2 separate regions of the Homo sapiens genome follow, and region 2 is linked to region 1. Evidence: promoter capture Hi-C in human tissues and cell types (Jung and others, 2019). All regions are on one chromosome and are shown on one strand. The core of a region is centred on a gene start or on the middle of the fragment in contact, and the rest is flanking DNA. Distances in the headings are between cores, read along the strand shown. Region 1 holds the start of CDC27 (cell division cycle 27). Region 2 overlaps LOC101927060 (a long non-coding RNA gene).

Region 1 (5,013 bases), core at 649-3,148:
TTCAGGCAATTCTCCTGCCTCAGCCTCCCAAGTAGCTGGGATTACAGGCGCCCACCACCACGCCTGGCTAATTTTTTATATTTTTAGTAGAGACAGGGTTTCACTGTGTTGGCCAGGCAGGTCTCGAACTCCTGACCTCAGGTGATCCACCCGCCTCAGCCTCCCAAAGTGCTGGGATTTCAGGTGTAAGCCACCACGCCCGGCCTTCCATGCTTTTATAAAGTCTGAAATTATTATTAAATGGTGGTTATAGTCTATCAATGCAACTAGTTTATCACTTTAGAAGACTTCTGGGGCCAGAGAAGGCAAAAAAAAAAAAATCATTAACTATTAAAACAAAATTATAAGAATATGCAACAGAAATTAAATAACTTGAGTAATCTGCTTATCTATTTAAGTTCATGTTAGGCCTTAAAAAATTATATATATATAATTACCTCATCTACAGCCAGAATAAAAAAAAATCTTAAAAGAAACTATACTGGTAAAAAGAATTTGGATGGAAATAGCTCTAGAAAAACTAATACAACTTACAGACAGGTAAATTTCATAAGATATAATCTTACGTTTTATTAATTCAAACACTAATAGCTGCTATATGTAAACAGCTGGAGAAAAAAACCAAACTAGAAGAAATGAGTATTTCATGCTGTTTAGAAAAATGAAATAAATATGAAAGTAGTGATATATTAAAATATTTACTGTTTGATACCTCAAGCCTTTTAAGGGCAATATGAAGGAATTTCTAAAAATCAGTTTGCTTTATAACTTCAAAATAAAGTCCATGACTCAATGACAGCAGTTGATAGAGGTCAATTCTGATCAAGTTAAAGATCATATAGTGGGATGAAGTCTCCCAGACCTGGTCCATTACCAAGGCACAAAAGATACAGTTTCTCCAGATGTCAGGGGGGAAAATGACTTGGCACCGCATCACACACTTAAAATCCAATAGGGTTCCTTTAATGCAACACAGCACTGTGCGTCAAAGCATACCCTGGTGTAAAGGCAGTGAAATGGACAGAAACACCATTATTTGTGTTTCATTTCCTGAATGCCTTATAAACATGCACAACAAAATGCTCCTGATCCCCATCAGAGAGGATGAAAACAACCCAAATGTGCCCTTTCCACCTCCTCCCCTGGTATTGGTGCTTGCGCCTCAGCACTGAGGCTTGGAGTTGTCTTCTCAAACCATCATTGTCCGGTGGGAAATTCACCGAGAAAGGAAACGTGGGATAGGAAGTCTGTTACCAAAATAGAAATTAGTATTAAAAAGACCGATCCTACGCTCCCTCCACCCTCTCATACAAGACAAAATAAAAAAAACCTCCGTAAACTTGCCCTACCGTCACGAAGATCACACAAGCTCCGATCAAATGTGCTTCTCGATCATCTTTTAGGCAAGAGAGCGCTTGGGGTGCATTTTCGGCCCCTCATCTCCCACCCCCAGTCAAGCCAGGCCCCTGGACTGACAGGAAAGGCTGGCCGGACGTTGGCTCGGACGGGAAAGGCGGTTATTTTCGCCGAAGCCGCTCACGCTAAGGGTGAAGTAATGTAGGGCCAGAGGTAACACGGCTTAGGCTGTGGGCAAGGCCTCCGAACTGACTAAAGATAGGCAGGACACGGCAGCAGGGGAGGCGGGAGAAGCAGCCGGGCCTAGGCCGCACCAGGCCGCGGAGTGGCCCTACGCTGCTGCTTCCCGACCGAGGCTGCCAGCCAAGCCCCAGAGAAGAAGGTTATCATTACCTGGACGGGTTCCTGCAGCACCGTCATCCTCGAGGCTCAGGCCCACTTTCTGCAGTGCCTCAGGCCCCCCCTGTAGCGGCTCCGGCCCGGCCAGCCCCTGCTCATTTAAACTCACCAGCGACCGTTACCGGGGGATGGGGGAGGCCGAGCGATTGCCGAGTGCTTCCGAGCGGGACACGGGAATACCCGAAGTGGAGAAAGCCGAGCGGGAACCAGACGGAAAAGCCCGAAGGGAGTCGGAAATACCCGAGGTTGGTCGACGAGAGAGAAAACCGTTGCCGGAAATTGTCGAAGATTACCGGAAGCTACCGAGTCTGACCCAAAGCGTAGGTTTCTCTTCTCAGCCACGCCTTCAGCCACGCACACCACGCCCAATCGGCCGTCCCAGGGTTGGGCTACGCCAAATCTGCAACCAGCAGGCTGGGCGTGGCGTGACAGCGCGGGCGGGTAGCGTTACGTGGCGGGGCTGCAGTGTGGATTAGCCCCTCAGCCCTTTTGGATTAATTGGTGTGCTGTAGATTATGAAGCAAAGGGTGAAACAGCAGAGTTTGGGGCTGTCTTTAATGAATCAACAAGTATTTGTCTATTGAGTTTAGATCATTCGTCCATTCCAGAAGTATCTACTCACGGCTCTGGGGGAAAGCTAAAGAAATTTGGAAAGATTGCCACTCCCCAAAGACATAGGATAGCTTCTGTCTTCAAGGAGATTAAGGTCTATTTAAGGGAAAAGCAGTGTAACAGAGAACGCTATATTATATGGTGCCTATTATAAGTAATATAAAAATTCAGAGAGGGCAATTGTGATAAGATAAGGAAAGTTCTATGGAAGGAAAAAAAAGTTTAAAATGGAGTTTGAAGGATGGGTAAAATTAGAGGAAAAAGAAGTATAGGAAAGTGAAGGGAGGAAAAATGGGATCAGTCTGCTAAGAAGGCATTAATTGGAAATAGTTACTTAGGTGAAGAGATCATGGAAAAGCTCAATAGGCCATTAGAAATTTTTATTTTTGATAGGTGAGGCATTCCGCTGTGGTGGGAAGAGTAGGGGGTCGGAAATTCAGAGGCCTGGTTTTGAATTTTATCTTTAGCACTAACTAGTCATAGGTCCTTGGCAAATTACCTCTCTGAACTTATGTTCGCTTAGTTTGAAAAAAAAGGATTAAGAGAATTCGATGTATTATAAATGTGGCCGTGTCTAGCATGCAATGTAGACTCTCTCATATTTCCTTTCTGCTCCCCTTCTCCCCCCAAAAAGAGTGAACCAGGGGACTGTTTAAATTTTGTTTTTCAGCAGATGAGGAAACAGTTTTTGAAAGTTACTTTTCTAGTCAGGAGCTCTCTAGGCTAGATGTGAGAATCATGATATATTCCATTGCTTGGAAATTTCCCTTTGGGTGATGTTAGAGGGAGATATTTTTTCTTTCATTTTTAAAAACAAGGCTGACAGAGCTACACTGCATCCTTCTCCACCGCCTTGTCTTGTCACTGTATATATACTTATAGCCCCTAAAGGGCAGGTGCTAAGATGATTTTTGGCTGCCCTGTGCCCAGTTGCTTTAGCGGGATTATGCTGGATGACTTGAGTGGTAACAGACTTTTACACTGGCCTGGAAAGTAGCCATTAGCTATTTAAAGTTTAAGTTAAAATGAAATTAAAAATGAAGTTCTTCAGATGCCCTAGCCACATTCCAAGGATTCAGTAGCCCTGTATGTGGCTAGTGACTGCCATATTGGACAGTCACACAGATATAGAAGAACATCACCAGCACTGGCTTGGCTAGGGCTGAAAGATTCAAGATGGCTTCACTCACATGTCTAGGGTGTCAGTGGTAGCTATTGGCTGGGTCCTTCATTTCTTCTCTGCATGACCTCTCTTTTCACACTGGCCTCTTATGAGTCAGTAGTTTAGCTCCAGCTTCTTGACTTGGTGGTTGACAACAAAGTGCGCAAAAATAGAAGCTGTGAGGTCCCTTAGGCCTAGGCCTGTGAGCATCACTTCTTGTTGGTCAGAGTAAGACTCAGAGCCACCCTGGATTCACCAGGAGGAATAGTCTACTTCTTAATGGGAAGAGTGGCAAAGTAACACCACAAAGGGCGTGTGCCATGGGAGGAGTTTTTGGGTCATCTTTGGAAACAATCTACCACGCTAGATATGAGATGAGAGTATCTAAGATTGGGAATGGAAAGAAAGGGATAAGTAAGAGCTATCACTCTTAAAATGTGACCCTTTCAACTGAACACAGTACTCCAGATTTATTCTGAATAATTCAGAATGCAGTTGGACTATTATTATCTGGACACGTCTATTAAAGTGGACTACAGTTGTATTTACATTTTTTTTTTCCGAGACTGAGTCTTGCTCTGTTGCCCAGAGCTGGAGTGTAATGGCGCAATCTCGGCTGACTGCGTCCTCCGCCTCCGGGGTTCAAGCAATTCTCCTGTCTCAACGTCCCGAGTAGCTGGGATTGCAGGTGCGCACCACCACGCCCGGTTAATTTTTGTATTTTTAGTAGAGACGGGGTTTCACCATGTTGGCCAGGCTGGTCTCAAACTCCTGATCTCATGATCCACCCATCTCGGCCTCCCAAAGTGCTGGGATTACAGGTGTGAGCCACTGTGCCCAGCCTGTATTTACATTTTTTAGCAGTCACATGACACTGTTTGCTCATGCTAAACTTGTGTGGTCATTTACGGACTCAGCTCTTTTTCACACAACATGCTGCCAACCCAAGTCTTGTATGTGTGCAGCAGAGTTTTGTAAACCTAAATATAGGACCTTACCACAGAGGATACATAAAGATGATACTTTGTGAAAATATGGATCTAGAGTCAGCATTTAAAGAGCCTCTGATGCTTGGCACTCTGGCTTATAGGCTTAGAATTTGCCTAAAGCCTTTTTTCTTTTTTTAACCTAAAAAAGAGCATTTCCTGGCTGGGTGAGGTGGCTCACGCCTGTAATCCCAACACTTTGGGAGGCCAATGCAGACGGATCACCTGAGGTCAGGCGTTCCAGACCAGCCTGACCAACATGGAGAAAACCTGTCTCTACTAAAAATACCAAATTAGCTGGGCGTGGTGGCACATGCCTGTAATCCCAGCTACTTGGGAGGCTGAGGCAGGAGAATCGCTTGAACCTGGGAGGTGGAGGTTGCGGTGAGCTGAGATTGCGCCATTGTTCTCCAGCCTGGGCAACAAGAGCAAAACTCCGTCTCAAAAAAAAAAAAAGGCCAGGCGCGTTGGCTCACGCCTGTAATCCCAGCACTTTAG
Region 2 (5,013 bases), core at 981-3,480, 110 kb before region 1:
TTTCGGAGGCCTAGGCGGGTGGATCACGAGGTCAGGAGATTGAGACCATCCTGGCTAACATGGTGAAACCCTCTCTCTACTAAAAAAATACAAAAACAATTAGCTGGGTGTGGTGGTGGGCACCTGTAGTCCCAGCTACTCAGGAGGCTGAGGCAGGAGAATGGCGTGAACCCGGGAGGCGGAGCTTGTAGTGAGCCAAGATCATGCCACTGCACTCCAGCCTGGGCAACACAGTGAGACTCCATCTCAAACAAAACAAAACAAAAAAAACCCAGTGAACTGTGAAACAGCCTCCAACAGGTCCTTCTGTTGGCACTGTCACAGGCGATGAAAGCTCCGTGTGTGTTGTTGCCCCTGAAGACCTAAGAGTGGAACAAGATGTGAAGGTGGAGGACAGTAATTCCGACAAATCTGACACTGTGTGGGCCTACGTTCATGTGTGTGTTTGTGTCTTAGTTTTTAGCAAAACAGTTTAGGTAGAAAAAAGCTTGTAGGATAAGGTGTGAAGAAAATATTTTTGTACAATTACAATGTGGTTGTGTTTTAGGCTAAGTGTTATTACAAAAGAGTCAAAAAGTTTTAAAATTTTAAAAGTTAATAAAGCAAAAAGTTACAGTAAGCTAAGGCTAATTTATTATTGAAAAAATCTTTAAAATAAATGTAGTGTAGCCTCGGTGTTCAGTGTTTATGAAGTTTATAGTAGTGTACAGTCATGTCCTAGGCCTTTCACATTCAGCCACCCTTCACCCGCTGACTCACCCAGAGCAACTTCCAGTCCTGCAAGCTCCATTCATGGTAAGTGCCCTATACAGGTGTACCATTTTTATCTTTTCTACTATATTTTTACTGTATTTTTTCTATGTTTAGATATGTTTAAATACATAAATCTTTACCACTAGTTGCCTATACCATTCAGTATAGTAGCATGATGTACTTGTTTATAGCCTAGGAGCAATAGGCTATACCATGTTCTCTAAGTGTATAGTAGGCCATACCACCTCAGCTTATATGTATGTAAATATGTATGTATTTGAGACAGTCTCGCTCTGCCCTTGCCCAGGCTGGAGTACAGTGTCACGATCTTGGCTGACTGCAGCCTCCATCTCCCGGGTTCAAGTGATTCTCCTGTCTCAGCCTACCAAGTAGGTGGGGTTATAGGCACTCGCCACCACACCTGGCTAATTTTTTTTTGTATTTTTAGTAGAGATGGGGTTTCACCATGTTGGCCAGGCTAGTCTCGAACTCCTGGCCTCAGGTGATTCACCCACCTTGCCCTCCCATGCCTCGGCCTCCCAAAGTGCTGAGATTATAGGCGTGTGCCACCACGCCCAACCCTCAGCTTGTATTTAAGTACACTCTATGACATTCACACACCAATGAAATCACCTAACAACACATTTATCGGTTTCCCTTTCGTTAAGCAATGTGTGACGGTATACACAAAACTCCAGATTATTTTCCAGATATTTAGAAATACTTTTCAGATATTTTGAAAGTTTCTGAAAACTGCTCTGTCATTACTTCTGAGTGATGAGCTGAAGAATAAAGCATGAACCAAATGAGGTATCTTCTTATACACAGCTAGTGAGACTATAAACTGACACGACCAAAATACTTCTCTAAAGTATGCATTAAGAACATAAAAGAGCATTCATACCTTTGACTAAGATAAAGATGTTTATCATGGCATACTTAATTTTAATAATAAACGTAACTTAAATAGTCAACGAGGAAAGCCAATAGCAGGCAGCCATTAAAAATGTTTTCCAAAAACCAACTGGGAAATATTCAGGGCACATATATAACATGACTGTGTTTAAACAAATTATTCATGTGCTAGGAAAATGTACCATAATGTGGGTAGCGAGATAATTTTGAGCTGTTGGTTTTGTTTTGTTTTGTTTTGGGGGGGCGGGGGGAGGGTGTGTCTTTTATACTTCTGTGTAATTTCAAAGTTTCCTGAGAATTGATACACAGTATTTCTTCAGTTCTAAGAGGTACTTTCCCCACGTCAACAACTTTTAAAACAAGATGCATCTTACAATTGCTGTTATGCCCTAGTTTAATGGAAATAATTTCTTTGTTGTACTTAAAATAATGGTACATCTTACAATCAATAGCATCTTAAGTTCTATGAAGTGTGGCAGTTTTATAACAGGCAACTAAAATAACATAACATATACACATATATAAACTTACATATATATATTTATGAATGTATATAAAAAGATGAAGCAACACTTATGACTACTATTGTACTAATCTCAGTTGTTACTAAGAGACTCTAGTTCTCAAATATAGAAATTCCCACTTAACTACTGGCTATAAAAACCTAGAAACAGACACCGAAGAGGTGTCTCTGATAGAGAAAGACTGTGTTTTTCTCCTCAGTACAGGCATATCCAGTCACCTCCTAGTTATTCTTAGTCACCAATCCAGTTCAAGTTCTACAAATCTCACTTTAAAATTTCCTTTGTGAAGAGTTGAGAAAGCAAAATATTGACCAAATCTAGAATGTTTATTAGTTTTGTTCTAGCTAATTTTTAAATAAGTAAATCAGGATTTAGCTAATTTTTAAATAAGTAAATCAGGATTTAATTTTTACACTACCCTAAGGGAATAAATTAATAATAAAAACTGTGTCCTCAATTAAAGTAGCTCTATCAAATGTTTGGAAAATATATATATATATATATATATATATATATATATATATATATATATATATATATATATGTATCTCCAATCTGGAAAGAAGGTAGAAGTCTCCAGTGAAATTTTTGGAATAAAAGTTTAAATGATTAGACAGCCCACAGAACTTTCACTTCAAACCCTGATCATTCTGTTCATTTTATCAGTTGATCAACCGTTAACTTTTGGCCTACTAATTTAACGGATACTGTTCACAGGAAAGCCATTTTCTTAAGGCTTTGACTAGTACTAAGGTCAAAAAGGCATTTTGACCCTTATTTTTAGTAGCCACAGACTTTTTCTAGACATGGGTCTAGATAAAGATAGAGCTCAGCCATACCAAGCTAATATAAAAAATACTTTGCAAGAATGTAAGCTTCATGAAGGTAGGATTTTTGTTCACTATTGTGACCCTACTATGGAGAACGCTGCTGAGACATAGTAGGCACTTTTCCATAAATCTAACAAATATGACAGTTACATCAATGGCTTGCTTGCATTATACAGCATTTTTCTTGTTTCCTGTTAACTCAGATACCCACACTGTTTTGTTCTAAATACACGTTCAATTAACCATTATATTCTAATAGTGTTTTCCTTTTAATGAGACAAGGTCTTAGTTGCCCAGGCTGGAGTGTGGTGGCACAATCTTGGCTCACTGCAACCTCCACTTCATGGGCTCAAGTGATCCTCCCACTTCAGCCTCCTCAGTAGCTGGGACTACAGGCACGTGCCATCATGCTCAGCTAATTTTTGTATTTTTTGTAAACACAAGGTCTCACTATGTTGCCCAGGCTGGTCTCGAACTCCTGAGCTCAAATGATCCTCCTGCCTTGGCCTCCCAAAGTGCTGGGATTACCAGAGTGAGCCACCACGTGTGATCCCATCAGGTTCTTAAACAAATTAAACCACTATATCAGGTCATTAAACCACTTGTCTTGAAATAGTTAAAAAGGGGGTTATGGGGAGGGGATTACCAAAGAGGTGGGAGGGGATGGGAGAAAAGCAATAATGATAGTTTTCAGCTGTACTAAAAAACACCAGACACCTATCCCTTATTAGCACATATCTGTTTGTAAATGTCTGTTTGCTGACGAATTTGATATTCCAAGTCAGAAACATGAGCCTGAAGCCAGTTCCAGCAGCTGACAATAGCTGCCCGGTCTGCAGCCCATCTCCATTCTGACCTGTGTCTCCTAAAAAGAAATAAATTGAGTGAAGTCCAAGAGTAGTAGTAATATCTATACCAGACTTGGGGGTGGAGGGTGGAATTTAACTTCTAAAGGCCCTTGCAGAGACTAACTCTAGTGTCAAGAAAAACCCAAAACAGACAGAGACAGATACCCCCCACTCCTCAGGATGCACATGGATATAAACTTTCAAATAGGTATTTCCCAAATTAAGTGGAACTGCCTTCTACCATCCTGATCCTGCGGCACACGGTTTCTCTGAAATTGCATTAATTTCTCTAGAGATAAAAATATTGTCCATGTTAAAATAAAACATATATTAAGAATAATCTATACAGGAAATCCAACTGACAATAAGAACTATTAAAACTAATAAAGAATTTAGCAAAAGTGTTCAGTAAAGAATATTTGAAAACTAATAAAAAAGTAGAAAATATTCATTTTTTAAGTATCATTCATAACAACGACAAAACTAATGATATATTTAAAATCTTTATAGAGAAAACAGTAATGCCTGAAAGCATGAAGCTCTATACAAATGGTAGGATACATTTTTTAAGGATGGTGATTCTCATGAACATCTATAAATTCAAAGAAATTCCAGTCAAATTGCCTACAGTATTTTTAATGAAAGCTGAGAAACAGATCCAAAAGTTCACATGACATAAAGGACCAACAGCAAGAAATTTGGAAGAAGGCATGATGCAAATACACATTACCAGATAGCCAGATTTGCTGCAAAACTGTAGAGAGCCTCAAAACGTAGAACTAGATACATAAAAGATACCGGGAAATTTTCTTTTAATCAGATCAGTGGGGAAAAAATGAAACTATTCAATAGTACTAAACTGGCCAGTTCTTTAGAAGGAAAAAGTAAAATTAGTTCCCTTCTTCATGATATAATTACAAAATTTTGGCACTTCAAATTGCTAAACATGAACAGCCAAACTTAAAAGAACATCTTCGGGACTTAGAGCAGGAAGTATTTCTTAGATAAGACACAAAAATATCACCTACTTTTCAACATGCAATAGAAAATCTAATAAAATTAAAAGGCAAACTGTACTTTGGTGGAAGATATCTAATACATATAACTGAAGATTAAACATCAGAATATGTAACAGAACTCTCA

Evidence for each region. The method cuts DNA at HindIII sites, captures the fragments that hold promoters and counts their contacts. A contact is called where the count stands out against the background at its distance.
Region 2: a contact is called between a fragment that was not itself captured here and the fragment with the promoter of CDC27 in region 1, in 2 of the 25 tissues and cell types used here (dorsolateral prefrontal cortex and hippocampus).

The regions. Positions count from the first base shown.
Region 1 is chr17:47,187,397-47,192,409 of GRCh38, forward strand. It overlaps CDC27 (cell division cycle 27), which reads right to left and starts at 1,899. Exons shown (of 19, transcript NM_001256.6): 1 at 1,750-1,899. The coding sequence starts at 1,776. It also overlaps a transcript of MYL4 not described here. RefSeq lists a silencer at 1,424-1,473 and enhancers at 1,507-2,103, 1,634-1,823. The HindIII fragment of the contact is 11,296 bases long and covers 1-5,013 here.
Region 2 is chr17:47,077,046-47,082,058 of GRCh38, forward strand. All of the region lies in intron 1 of LOC101927060 (a long non-coding RNA gene), which reads right to left. Among named protein-coding and RNA genes, the nearest start is that of RPRML, 100 kb to the left of the region's middle. The HindIII fragment of the contact is 6,830 bases long and covers 1-5,013 here.